Regions from separate parts of the Homo sapiens genome. Here regions 2 and 3 are each linked to region 1. The links are contacts of gene promoters, found by promoter capture Hi-C in blood cells and fetal thymus (Javierre and others, 2016). All regions are on one chromosome and are shown on one strand. The core of a region is centred on a gene start or on the middle of the fragment in contact, and the rest is flanking DNA. Distances in the headings are between cores, read along the strand shown.

Region 1 (4,596 bases), core at 469-2,968:
ACCTCATGATCCGCCCGCTTCGGCCTCCCAAAGTGCTGGGATTACAGGCGTGAGCCACAGTGCCTGGCCCAGGAGTAATTAATCTTAAACAAGCTATCTTTAGCAAGCAAAAGCATCTTACAAAGTACAGTAACTGAGGCTATCAAGCATGTAAAGAAAGCATTTTCTAGAAGCTTAGAGATGGATCCCCGAACACTCTGTAACCCTCTGTTAACAGTCTAAGGAATTCTGTTCTGAATTTGGGGGCTCTTCTCCAGGCAGTCAGGGTTTTGAATTCTATTTACAATTCCTCTGCTCTCTATGGCCTAGAATGATTGAACCAAGTCTCTAGATCACTGTAGGAGACATCAACCTTTAACAATACATTCTTGAGGAGAAGAGACTCGTGTAAGAAACTATCTTGTAAGAAGGGATGAGAATTACCCTAATGATGTAACTGACAACACAGTTTCTAGTTTTTCCTTTCTTTCCTTCCTTCTCCATTTTTTCCAGTTTCATATCCTTGTTTGTTCATGCTACATGAATACTTGAAGTTGATAGAGTTGGCTTTAACTTAGGAACCTTTGCTTAGAAAGTCAATATCCTGGCCTTTCCCAGAGTACTTGACTTCCTGCAAACCTTGTTAATAATACTTTGTTTTTTAAAATGTTGGAGAACTTCAGCCATTGCAGCCTCTTGCTAAGAAGCAAAAGCTATAATGACAGAGAAGCCCCAAAGTGCAGTGGAACCAGGGATCTCCGGGGAGAGTGGTGGTTTCCTGGGCCCCCCCAGAGAACCCAAGGCTGTGCTGGAGATGCTGCCGTGACAGGTGGAGGCGTGGAGAGGCACCTGGCAAGTCCTCAAACGCCTCCCCCTTGATTTAGCTCCTCTAGCTAAGGATACGCATTCCTTTGGGTTTCAGGTTTTTCTTCCCTAAAAAGAGAATCCCCAAACTGGACAAGCAGGTTACATTCACACAATAGCGTGAATGAATTCGCTGGTCGCCCTTCAGATTCTCATTTTGGAATCTCGAAGAAAGAGAGGTGGTGGGAGGAGGGCGCTTGAAACTTCTGGCGATGCCAGTTCAGATCGATTCCAGCTATGACGGAGCGGGAAGTGGATAAAGAGGACCCCAAGTCACAGGAGGCACTCTGAGAGCACCAAGCGCCCGGGGAGGCCATCCGCAGGTGGGCGCGGGGCCTGGATTCCACAGAGGGGCGGAGTCCCTCAGTCAGGCGCTGGCTGCAATCACACCCGAGCGCCAGCCCCCTCCAGCATCCCTGAGTCCCAGAGGAGATCGCCGAAGCGCTGGAAAAGCCGTTCCGCCCACGACTTCTGGTGCCGGGTCGGCGGCGACTGGGGGAGCCCAGTTCCGAGACCGTACCGCACCCACTGCGGACCTCCTGGGCCCTACATAGTAGGCGGGTCATGCAGGGCAGCGGGAGGAGGGGCGTGGGAGGGCCAAGGCCGCCGAGTCCCCGCTGTTCAGCCAGCAGGAGCGCCCCGCAGCCCTCCCGGGACACGGTGGACACGCTTGTCCCAGACCTGGGCGCCCTCCTGCCGGGAGCCAGGACTGGCCGCAGCAGGCGCTGTCCGGGCCCGTGGGCGGGGTTTCGGGAGGGGGCGGAGCCAGGCCCACGGCCGGTGTCAGGTTGCTCCGGTAACGGTGACGTTTCGCGGCGTGGGCGGGGCCAGCACGCAGGTTGCATATTTTAGGAAGTGAGGAGGAGGCGCGGGCTGGAGCTGCGGCGGGGTCTGGGGCGCAGAGCAGCGGCGGGAGGAGGCGGACACGTGGCAACAGCGGTAGCAGCCCGGGCGGCGGCAGCAACAGCGGCGGCGGCATCGGCCCGAGCCGCCGGCCGCCCTCCCACCCTCCCGCCCCGCGGCAGCCCTAGCTCCCTCCACTTGGCTCCCCTGGTCCCGCTCGCTCGGCCGGGAGCTGCTCTGTGCTTTTCTCTCTGATTCTCCAGCGACAGGACCCGGCGCCGGGCACTGAGCACCGCCACCATGGGGAAGGGGGTGAGTGTCCGGCGCGCCCGGGGAGGGGGCTCGGGGAGCCCTCGAGGGGAAGAGGAGGAAGTCGGGAGGGCGACCGCGGCCAGCGGGAGGCGGCGGAGGAGGAAGCGGCGCCGCGTGGAGTGGGCTGGCAGAGCCGCGCGGCTTAAAAGACGACGCAGTTTGGAAATGGAGGGAGCGCAGTAACGGGGGGCGGGGGAAGGGAGCGCCGAGGGGCTGGAGCGCGGCATTGCTTAGGGGGGTGGGCGGACCCTGGGCGGGGGCTGCGCGCCCCGGAGGCCGAGCGGGCCGGGGGCTCCGAGAGGCGGTGCTTGGGAAGCCTCGGGGCCGGGAGGAGGGGGCTTGCAGCAGCGGGGGCGGCCCCGGGACTGAGCCGGCATCCCTGAGCCTGGCTCCCCTCCCTGCGACCGCCGTCACCTCCTTCTCCTTCCTTTTCCCTCCGCCCTCCGTGCCCTGAGGAAAGGCGCGCTCCTCCCCTTCCCCTGGGGCGCTCCGCCGGGGCCTCCTCCCGGGCCTCCGTTCCCGCCGCGGCCCCGGTTCCGGCGGGGGCAGCCTCCGGGTTCGGGGCTCCTTCTCCTGGGGACGCTGGGGCTTAGCTTGCTCCGCGCAGAGGCGGCCGCCCTCCCCCAAAGAAAAAACTGGCTGCTTCTAAGTGCGAAGCCGGCTGGGCGGGCTGGTGCCAGAAAGGGTGTGTCTTCACTGCCCTAAGATGGCCTTTAAGGTATACTTTTGAGGGCTTTCTTGGGCCACTTTCCGTAAACACAGGATGCACCGATGGCAACTGGAGTTGTCATCCGATGGTGGGGAGAGGCGTGCAGATTTTTTTTGAAGGGACGAGCCCTGAAGGAGGATAGGCAGACCCACCAGGGCCTCAGGGTACAAGAAACCCGAAAAAGGACTGGAGGCTGCAGGCAATACGGTGGTAGGAATCTCTGCCGGTTTCCAGCGTCGCGGAAGCACCAAAGGGCGGTCCCTGAAGGAAACGAGGGGTCTTGGGGCTGGAGAGCGGCGCGGAGCGTGGTGGGAATATCGTCACAACGCCGCTGTCCTACATTTCTGTAGCGAAGACTTGATTACCCCTAGCTATTACCCGTGCAGGAGACTGGGCCCTGGACCCCAAATGAGCCAAAGTCTAGTTGAGAAAAATTTACACAGAATAACCTCGGAGTTCATGGGGTGAAAGTGACCATGTCATGAGAATACAAATGGGAGAGAATCCACTTCGTTGTCTCCAGGGTTTAGCACAGTGCAGACACTGAGTAGGTCTTTGAAGGCCCTGAGGCTTCTGGGTGTAGACAGAGTGTCGGGAGCAGAGGGAGGCTGCACTCCTTGGGGACTCTAAGGGAGTTTTAAAGGAGGTAATTGAAAGGCTTGGACCTGGTGGGGAGAACAGGCACAAGTGGAAATGCACAACTCGCCTCGCTTTTAAAAGCATGCAGCGTGGAGGGCTGGTCCAGGTCAGGTGGCATCAAAGAGCGGAGTACAGGGCCTCTCCATTCCCCTGATGGAGTCTGGGTTAGTGGCCTGTGCTTTTACCACACCGTCAAACCCTTGATCATTTCTGTAAACATGCACTTTAAAGCTCATTCTTTGTCTCTCCTGCCTTAAAAGAAAAAGAAAAAAGTTTACTTCCTGAGCTAATTTTGGGGGGTTTAGACATCACAGATGTGTGCCCCAAGCCTAGGAAGGTGAAGTGACTTGCTCAAGGTCAAACGGTTGGCTAGTGACAGACTAGGCGTCCCTGATTCTTGAACAGCCTGTGGCCTCAAGCCTGAACATGCATTTACTCTTTAACATTGAGTTCTTTATACAGAACTCAGAACTTCGGATGAAACGGGGTATTTGTGATGTTGAATTAATAGGCCATGGAGATGGTTTGGGTAACTAAGTTATGTCCATTTATCTAGATGTCTCCTTTATAACCACACACAGGCACACATGCACAGTAGTGATGCGGTGGTAACCCACCTGAATAGTTAGTAGAGCTTAAACCCAGATGTCTTACAACAAAATGTATAGTGGCTAGCAAACACAAGATTAAATTACAGCTGCGAACACTGGGATGATGAGCTGCTTGGCTGCTGGGTGGTAGTTAGCATTTTGAGTATTCTGATACATTAAACATTAGTTTACTTGTGTGTGTGTTTGTGTGTGTGTTTGTCCTGTGACTTATTGTGAGCGTCCAAATGTTCAGAAGAATATTTCATGTTGGGATTTTTCCACATGGGGATTAAAATGTGGGTGGAGAGTGACTAAAGCCCTGCTGATAATTGGCTAACAAGGAAGCCTGTGCCGGCAGCTAATTTTTAAGGTCATTGTAAATTTCTTCCCCTCCTCTCCTCAGTACCCTTTGTGGCCTAGCTTTTGATGATATTTCAGGTGATTTTATATGTCCTTAAAAGTCTAGTTCCTAAGCATTTGGTAAGAAAATGAAAGAACAGCTCTTGCTGAATCATTCCTGGATGAAATAGGATTTTGTCCCTTTTTTTCTTTCTGGGTTTTATTGCCAGTGACTTGGCTTAAACCGTCAGCTAGGCCTACCACCGGCAACTGTTTCACTCACCAAAGGTACACGCCATAACTGTTTAGAAATGTGGGAAA
Region 2 (4,654 bases), core at 1-2,500, 1.3 Mb before region 1:
TTTGACCAAATATTTGGGGCCCCCCTGGCCTAGTCAAGTTGACATGTAAAATTAACCATCACAGAGAACAAAAGAAATGTAAAACAGGTAGACTAAATTGAAAACATACAATGAGATGGTAAATTTATACCTAAATATATCAGTAACTTCTGTTGAAAATAATCAAGAAAAAGAGAGATTGCACAAATAACCAATGTCAGGAAAAAAAAAAGATTAATAACTCCAGATCTGCAGAGATTTAGATAATAATAGGATAATATAAACAACTGCAAATAAATTTGAAAGGTAGGTAAAATGGACTGATTCCTTTGAAAAGTAACATCAGAATGCACTCAATGAAAATTAGAAGTTTGAATAGCCTTGTAAGCATTAAAAAATTGTATATGATCTTTTCACAAAAACAAAAAAGTCCAGCCCAGATTGTCCTTCAGTGGTGTGTTCTGCCAAACGTTTAGGTATGAAGTAATTCCAATCTTATGCAAACTCTACCAGAGAGTAGAAAAAGAGGGAGCATTTAAAAAATACTAAAATTATGAGACTTGTAGCAAGATCTCGAAACCTAAACCTGAAAAAGACAGGACAGTAATGAAAAGGAAAATTATAGGTCAATTTCACTTATGAACATAGATGCAAAAATCTTCAGCAAAATAATAGTCAACAAAATAGTAATATCTCACTTATTTGTGGGATCTAAAAATGAAAACAATTGAACTCATGGACCTATAGAGTAGGAGGATAGTTACCAGAGGCTGGGAAAGGGAGTGGGGAGTTGGAGGGGAAGGTAGGAATAGTTAATAAGTACAAAAAAATATAGAAAGAATGAAGAAGACCTACTATTTGATAGTACAATAGGGTGACTATAGTCAATAATAACTTAATTGTACATTTTAAAATAAAGAGTGTAACTGGATCGTTTCTAACTCAAAGAACAAATGCTTGAGGGGATGGACACCCCCTTCTCCATGATGTGCTTATTTCACATTGCATGCCTGTATCAAAACATCTCATGTACACCATAAATATATACACCTACTATATACTCTCCCAAATTTAAAAAGGTATGCATTAATACATAGAAAGCCTAATACATCATGACTGTATAGGGCAGGAATACAATGTTGATTTACATTTCAATCAGTATAACCTACCACATTAATAAAGGAGAAAAATCTGTGGTCATCTCAGTAGATACAGAAAAATCTTTTGATAATTCAACATCGATTTGTTGTAAAGATTCTAGGCAACTAGGTATAGATGGGAATTCATTGCTACAAGATAACATTTTGGTGACAAGACACATTCCTGCTATCACTACTTCTACTCATCACTGTACCAGAGAGCTCAATAAGAGAAATTAAATGTATAAGGCTTAGAAAGAAAGAAAGAAAGTTGTCATTATTTGCAGATGATCTAATTGTGTGTTTATTTTGATTTTCTACATAAAATAATAGGTTACTAGAATTAATAAGAGCGCTTATTAAATTTTCTGATGATAAAAATAAATGTGAGAATATCTTTTCATTAGATCAGTAATGAATCAGAAACTAAAATTTAAAAGAACATAGCTTAAAATAGCATAAGAAGTATCTATTCTCTAGAAAAGACATGTAAGAACTTTACAGGGAAAAATTAAAGTCTTTGTTGGGTAATGTTAAGGAAGCTGTTAATGAATGGAGAGATATGCTAAGTTTGAATTAGCAAAACCGACATTTAAAAAATGTCAATTCTCTCCAATTTGATGTATAGATTCAAAGCATTTACAATAAAAAATCTTCACAAAGATATTTTTTGTAGGTTTTTCATGGCAGCATGTGACAAGATGATGCTGAAAAATTTATATGGAAATTCAAAGGATCAAGAATAGCTGAAACATCACTGAAGAAGAACAAAGTGGGCTGAACTCGCTCTACTAGATATCAAGATTTATAAGCAACTACAGTATTTAGGACAGTGTAGTATCGGCACTGGGAGAGAAAAAAAAAAAAAAAAACTAAAAGGAAAAAGAGCCCAGAGACTGACTTTTGTGTATGTGGACAGTTTGTTTATGATGAAAGTACCACTGCTATGCACTGTGGGAAAATGTCCTCAAAGAATGACACTAGGGCAACTGGGTATCCCCATGTAAAAACAATTAACCCTAATCTCACATCACACACAAAAATCAACTCCATTTGGGGTATATACTTAAATGGAAGGTAAAACTATTAATATAAAGTTTATAGAGAATATTGTTTATTGCTTTTTTGGCCCCGATTCTTCTCTCCTCCCTGTGCCCATGCCCTTTCCCAGGTGACTTTGCAGTTCCTCTCATAAAAGGGGCAGATTATGTTTTTCCTCCCTGGACTCTATGTTTGGCTTAAGTCCTTTGGTGGAAGTGACAGTGTGCCATTCTGGGCCTAGGCCTCAAGGGACCTTGAACATCTCTGCTTGCCCTCTTCCACTTATGCCATCCCCATGAGAAGGATATGCCTGATCCAGCCCACTGACCTTGACAGGGAGATGAGAGACACATGGGTAGAGTTCTCTGGTGAAGCTGCCCCAGCCAAACCCAGCCTGGAGCCAAGCCCAGCCAAGATAAAGTGAGCCCATCCTGGACCAGCTGACCCAGGCACCTGAATGAGAACAAAATAATTTTTGTTTTCCATCATTGAGCTTTGGGTACATTTGTTAGGCAGCAATAAACTAACATCAGAAGGTAATATAGGAAAATATCTATATGACTTCCAGATAGGCAAATGTGTTTTAAGCTAGTCACAAAAGTACCTGCTCACCATAAAGAAAAAGAGTTTTTATGTTAAAATTAAGAATCCTCATTTATCAGAAAATACTGTTAAGAGAGTAAAGAGGCTTGCCATAAAATGGAAGATGATATTTGCAACCATTCAACAAAAAACCAGTATCGAGAATATTTTAAAAATTCCTACACAGAATTAAGAAAAGACAGATTATTTTACATTTTATATAAAAGTCCATCCACCTTTTATATGTACCTGTTGCACATAAAAATGAGCAAAAAGACTTGAAAGAGTATTTTGCAAAAGAGTAAATCCACCTGGACAATAAACATACGATAATGTTCTGAATCCCAGAAACCAGGGAAATGTAGATTAAAGTCAACAACAAAGTGGTAGCTTAGACCCCAAGATTAAAACAGTGTCAGTGAGAAAATACCAGTTACAGAGATAGTCAGGAACCTTTAAGAAACAAGATGCTGGATGTTACATTGAAAAATATGTGCTGAGCTGTGCTGCTCTGTAACTACCTGCCCTGTTGTGAATCTGACCCACAATGCCTGTGAGAGTGGTGTTTTCTCTGGAGGATTCAAAGGAAAGGACAGTTGCCTTCTTCCTTGTGTTGCTACAGGGCAGAGAGAATACTGCAGGAGGTGAGGGGCAGAACAGAGTTTATAACCTCAACTGCAGTGTGAAAATGCTGGTTACCTCCACCATGTCTTACGGTGTAGCAGCCATATGTTTTGAGTTGGGTAGATCCCAACCACCTTCAGGGATAAGCCCTGATTGCCCTAAGCCATTCATCATAATCCCATTTCCCTGGCCTTGGATGGCTATATAACCTACATTGATTCAATCAGACTGAGGTTCTGGACTCTTGCTCAGTATTAAACACATGTATGACCTAGAAGTGCTGCAGCCATTTTGCTACTACGAGGAACCCAGTCTGAAGACAAATTGTGTACAAGGGAAGGGGCAGAGCCAAGAGAATTATGGAATGAAATCCAGTTTGATTAGATCATGCCTGAAATTTTCTAATTACTACACCTTTCAGTTATATGAACCAATGAATTTCCTTTATTTTTCAAGCCAGTTTGAGTTGGCTTTCTGCTAGTTGCAATAGAAGCATCTGTAGAAATTAGAGCAACAGGTGATGAGGAAAGATGTACTGAAATTTCCGCAGGATCTGGTGATGAGGAGAAGCACAAGTTATACCACCAAATATGGAATGGAGGCTTAATAGGTTTAAAAATAATATTAAGGGGGAAGTTTGACTGAGGAACTCTGGCAAATGCCACTTGACTGACACATATGATATCTAGTAGCTTAGTGAAGTTTAGGGATGGTTCCTTGAGAGAATCAACTAGAAAGCCTTTTAAAACTCCTTTGAAGAGAATATAAGCTCTTGAAAAGATCCCAAAGATCAATCATTTCATCAAACAGCTGGGGAAACTGAGGCCCAAAGAGGTTATGTTTTAGTTAGTACTTAAGATGGGGCCAGGTCCTGGGTGTCCAGATTTCTCATGAGGGTTCTATCAACTCATGAAAGCTCATCATCTTAGATGTGTATAATGAAAAACTTTCATTTTCATCTACTCACATTGAATCTCATTGACTCTATTTTTTCTTCCTCACCCAGCTCTAAAGATCTTTTAGGAATTTAGCAGAAAATAGGTAACTGTCAGTCAAATTTACCATCACTTGCTGATGTGGGGAATTCCTGGGGTGCCCCATGTCCAGATCAGTTATGTAAGCCCTGAGTGAGATTCATCTGTCACAGGCTCATTGCCTCCTTAGCTCCTGGTGGTTTGAAGCTTCCCTTGGATTTGGCATCTTGTCCTGGGTTCTTGCTCCTACTCTCCTTGGGGTTCAGTTCTCTCTCCTGGATTTTGAGCACAGTGGCACCAACTCCCTTATTCCTG
Region 3 (4,902 bases), core at 1,654-4,153, 1.3 Mb after region 1:
TATATTGATTGATATAAAATTTGACCCAGGAAAGTCAAAGTTGGAAGAATTAAAGGCCTATGTACATCTATCACCATGAAAAAAGCTTTATTCAGTACAATTTGGTGTGAACAAAACAAACAGATCAACCAGTGAAACTGGTACTATACAATGCCAAAGGAAGAAAAGAATAGATGGCAAAAATAATTCTGATAACATAAAAGTGAAAGTCAAAAAAATAGGAAACTATTGAATTGCCTTGCATTAGAAAATTGATGAAGGAAATAAATTGGCTCAACAGAGTTTATGCTGGAAAATATTTTCTTAACAGGAAAATATCCCCAGGATGAAGATGATGGGTTTGTAACACCCACTGTGTTCTTCTATTTCTCTGCATTTTTGTTCAAGGCCATCCTTTTGTCTAGAAGATGCTCTTCTGACTTGGCCTCCTCCCAACTTCTACTCACCCCTTGGTGAACTCGTGTCATCTCCTCTATGAAGACTTCCCTGCAACCCAAGGCACCTTCTCTGTACCTTCTTTGCACTCCCACTATCCCTTGCACATCTTTTATGTGGCTTGACTGTGTTGTATTTTTTGTTTTTTTCGAGATACAACTTCCCTCTGTGGCCCAGGCTGGAGTGCAGTGGTGTGATCATAGCTCACTGCAACCTCACACTTGTGGGCTAAAGTGATCCTCCTGCCTCGGCCTCTAAAGTACTGGGATCACAGATGTGAGCCGCTGGGCCTGGCTGATTGTGTTGTATTAAACAGGCATCTGTCTATGGGCTTGAACTCTTCCATGTATCTTGATGTATTTGGTTTTTGATCACCAGTATCCAGCAGATTTTTTGGTTCAATACACATTTGTTCAATATGAGTAAGTTTTGTAAGAGGGGAGAAGAGGAGATGCACAAAGGTGACTAAGATATAGCTCCTGTCCTCAAGAAGTGCGTTCTCTGGCAAGCAGATGGCCAAGGGAAGTTTTAAAAATGGCCACAGTGGGAGGCCATGAGAGGCCCTGTGCCCAGGGACAGTGAGCTCAGAGCTGGCTGAGGGAATCTAGGATTTCTTTCTTAAAAAATACAGTGGGAAGTTGGCCAGATGCAGTGGCTTATGCCTGTAATCCCAGCACTTTGGGAGGCTGAGGTAGGAAGATCACTTGAGGCCAAGCATTTGAGACCAGTCCGGGCAACATAGAGAGACCCCCAACATCTATGTGAGCATGGTGGTGTGTGTCTGAAGGCTTAACTATTTGGGGTCCTGGCAGGTTGAGTCTGCAGTGAGCCATGATCATCACTGAACTCCAGTCTGGGCAACAGAGCAAGACCCTGTCTCAAAAAAAAAAAAAAAAAAAAAAAAAAGAAAAAGAAAAAGAAAAAAAGAAAAGAAAAAAAAGGTTTCTCCCTTGCATGATAACTTTTAAAAAATGAAAAATTTAGACAAAATAGAAAATCACTCATATTTCTATCACATAATGTAACTATTTTTTTAAACTTCTTTCTCTGTAAGTTTTGGGGATTGAAAAAAACTTTTTATTTTGAAATGATTATAAATTCACAGAAAGCTGCAAGAACAGTACAGAGATGTCCTGTGTACCCTTCACTCAATTTTCCCCAATGGGGACATCTTACATGTGTATAATACAGCCTCAAAGCCAGGGAAGTGACATTGGTCCAATCCCCAGATCTTATTCAGATTCCACCAGTTTTACATGGTAGAGCTTTTTGCTAACAGAGTTATAATGGGCTTATATGTGTGGTCCATATCTTATTTCTTGAATTAACTTTATCTCATGCAGCTTTTTAAACATTATTGCATAAATCATTTATAAGGTCTACATAATGAACATTCACCCACCTCAAGTAGCAGTTGGCTAAGTTTGTCCCCCGCTTCTGATGTTTCCATTACTTCCAGTTACACTGTTAGGAACAATGCTTCTGTATTTTATATTCTTCTTATATACATCTATGTTTTATATTCTTAGAATAAATTATCTAAAGAAGAAAGGAAGGAGATACAGGATGATAAATGCTTAAGGGGGCTATGTAATACTTTTTTCTTAAGATAGGAAAGAATTAAACATACATTGGTTTTGGGTCTGACCAAGTACAGAGGGAGCAGTGGAAGATACAGGGGAGAGGTCTTCTGACTGGAAAACACATAGGAGGGGATGGGGACACGGGAGGCTGAGAGCATTCATGTCCTCAATTTTTTACCCTTCCCTGTCTGCAAGCCGTTTGCCATGTAACTTTGGAGTTCTTCCCATAAAAGCACAGTATTTATTTCCCTACTCTGCAGGGCTTGCTTTGGCATGCAGAATGAAGCAAAGGGTCAGTGTGCCAGTTCTGAGCCTAGGCCTCAAGGGGCATTGAGCGTTTCCAGGGCTCTCTCTTGAGCCTCTGTCATAGATATGAAAATGCACCCGAGCCAGCCTGTTGGAGGTGAGAGACCAGGGAGCAGTGCGCGATCTCCCCAGCTGCCTCTGCCAAGGGTGGCCTAGATCAGCCAACAGCCCGCAGCCCCTCACACGTGATGTGTCCAGCCCAAATCAGCAAAGCTGCCTGACTGACCCGAAGCACAGAAGTGGTAAAGTTTATTATTGTATGTCATTGAGGTACAGATGACTTTTCACCTGGGAACTTTGCAGCAGAAGCTGACTGATACATGGTGCTCAGGATAGAGGTAGAGGGAAAGAAGGAAAAGAGGTTTCAGATCTAGGTAAGTCCAGGCATTACAGAAAGAGCTGCTTTTCTGTGGATGTGGTCGTGTTCTTTGCAAAGACTATTTCTTTTCTGCCTCTGATGGTGGGTGGGCAGAGGATGACCATGCATCTTAAATGAGCCACTTAAACTGAGGAATTAAACTCTTTTTTTTTTTTTTAAGATGGAGTCTTGTTCTGTCGCCCATGCTGGAGTGCAGTGGTGTGATCACAGCTCACTGCAAGCTCCACCTCCCAGGTTCAAGCAATTCTCCTGTCTCAGCCTCCCGAGTAGTTGGGACTACAGGCATGCGCCACCACACTCAGCTGATTTCTGTATTTTTAGTAGAGACAGGGTTTCACCATATTGATCAGGCTGGTCTCAACCTCTTGACCTCAGGTGATCCGTCTGCCTCGGCCTCCCAAAGTGCTGGGATTACAGGCGTGAGCCACCACGCCTAGCTAGGAATTAAACTCTTAAAGTTTTCTGTCTCAGCTACCAGGGCCAAGATGTAAGAAAAGGGAAGTTAGACTTTTGTTTAAAGAAAGCATGAGACAGGCCACCCTACGAACCAGGGCTGCCATAGACAGTGATGCAGGCTGTGCCCTGCACAAGGGCTCCTGGCCAAGGGCAGTGTGAGATGCATTCAGTGCAATGAAGCATGGATAGGAAGAACATGTCTGCATCAAAGTGCAACTTATACTCTGTGTACCAAAAAGAGTTTCACTGATAAGAATGAGGGGAAAATAGCACCTACAATTAGATACAGAATTTCCTCAGTATCAAAAAGCTAAGTTGTTTCTTTTCTGAAGCCCTTGATATACAATAAAAATAAATCTTATGCCCCACAGATAACGCTGGTTTAGTTTCGGTATCTTGGTGCCACCAGGAGCTGCGTGCTCTTTTTGAAATGATGAGAGTAGGTAAAAAGTAAGGAGTCTCTCCTGTTTCTCTTTATAGGATGGTTTTCCTGCTCTGTTAAGTGGCGCTCATCCTTCAGCTCCACACTCAAGGGGCAAGGACTCCTGTGGTTAAATATTCTGAGATCAATGCCACAGAGGGAAGCCACTCAAAGGGAAAGTCTTGGGCCTTTGGGTGTGGGGCAGGACTTTCTCGAGTTCCCGTGAGTCAGAGAGTCTCAGGAAGGGAAGGATCAGCAGAGTCATTCGGACCACCCTTTCATTTAACAAATGAGGAAAAAGAAGCCAGAGGGGGAAGGGACTGGCCCAGGGTCACGTAGCTCATAAACGACACAGCGGCAATGAAAACCCAGAGACTTTCACTTCTCTCCCTTCATTCTTTTTCTTCCATTCTCATCAAACCCGAAGAACAGGAATGGATGGTTGTTATAATACTGGTCCAGGAGGAGAGGCTTTAAATCAGAGTCCAAGGCAAAGTCCCTTTCAGAAAGCTCTGCTGGCCTGAGAGCCTTCCTCAATGCTTTGCCCACACGGCGCTGCACGATGCTGCCACGGCACCTCATGCCTCAGTGTGCTCTGGTTATATCTCAGGTCCCCCTGACCAGGAGAAATCTCCTGGAACAGTCAGAGACAGGTCACACCTCAGGCCGAACGCCCTGGGCCCAGGGTTAGGATTCACAGAATTGCGTGCTGAAACCTCCCAACAGTGGTTGAACTCTGGGTTCTGACACATGAGTGGATCAGGACCAACTGGGTCTAGATTTCTAAAATGCCTTCTGAAATGCTGCTTTTCCAGCAGTGGCAGAGAGCAGGGTGAGCAGTGAGGAGAATATAGGGAGGGGAAGACTGTGCTCTCAGACACCAGGACAGCCAGCCCAAATACACACCAGAGCCTGGGCCCAGTGGGTTCTAGTCCTGCCCTGTGTAACTTGCTGTGCAGCTTTGGGCAGATCCCCTCCCCTATCTGGTCCATGGCCTCCCAATCTGTGACATGAAGGCGTGGACCGGATGGTCACTGAGGCCCCTCCCAGCTTGGCCATATGTCCAGCCTTGAACCACGTGTAGACTCAAAGCAATTAGCCAAGAAGAGGAGTCTCCAGACAATTCCTCTTGCTCCACCCTGCCTCTGTGTCTGGTTCCTCTCCTGGCAGTTTCTATTTTCTGCTCTGTCTGGACAGAAGGGCTTGCTTGGCTCTGTCTGTCTTCCAGCCTTCCCTAGGAAATTGTCTTTGCTTGGAGCACAATGACGCACAGGGGTGCCCCCTGCCGCTCAGCTCTGTGCCATGGGCTTCCAAGGGCTACA

The links. The method cuts DNA at HindIII sites, captures the fragments that hold promoters and counts their contacts. A CHiCAGO score of 5 or more calls a contact.
Region 2: a fragment that was not itself captured here is called in contact with the fragment with the promoter of ATP1A1 in region 1 in 1 of 17 cell types (activated CD4 T cells); the score reaches 6.8 in activated CD4 T cells.
Region 3: a contact is called between a fragment that was not itself captured here and the fragment with the promoter of ATP1A1 in region 1, in 1 of 17 cell types (activated CD4 T cells). The highest score is 6.8, in activated CD4 T cells.

Annotation. Positions count from the first base shown.
Region 1 is chr1:116,371,526-116,376,121 of GRCh38, forward strand. ATP1A1 (ATPase Na+/K+ transporting subunit alpha 1) reads left to right here and starts at 1,719. Exons shown (of 23, transcript NM_000701.8): 1 at 1,719-1,998. The coding sequence starts at 1,987. RefSeq lists silencers at 1,346-1,875, 2,306-2,605 and an enhancer at 2,976-3,095. The HindIII fragment of the contact is 4,966 bases long and covers 172-4,596 here.
Region 2 is chr1:115,100,454-115,105,107 of GRCh38, forward strand. It overlaps LINC01765 (long intergenic non-protein coding RNA 1765), which reads left to right. Exons shown (of 2, transcript XR_947722.3): 2 at 1,795-2,228. Among named protein-coding and RNA genes, the nearest start is that of LINC01765, 3.1 kb to the left of the region's middle. The HindIII fragment of the contact is 6,588 bases long and covers 1-4,544 here.
Region 3 is chr1:117,667,348-117,672,249 of GRCh38, forward strand. No RefSeq gene overlaps it. Among named protein-coding and RNA genes, the nearest start is that of TENT5C, 64 kb to the left of the region's middle. The HindIII fragment of the contact is 5,640 bases long and covers 84-4,902 here.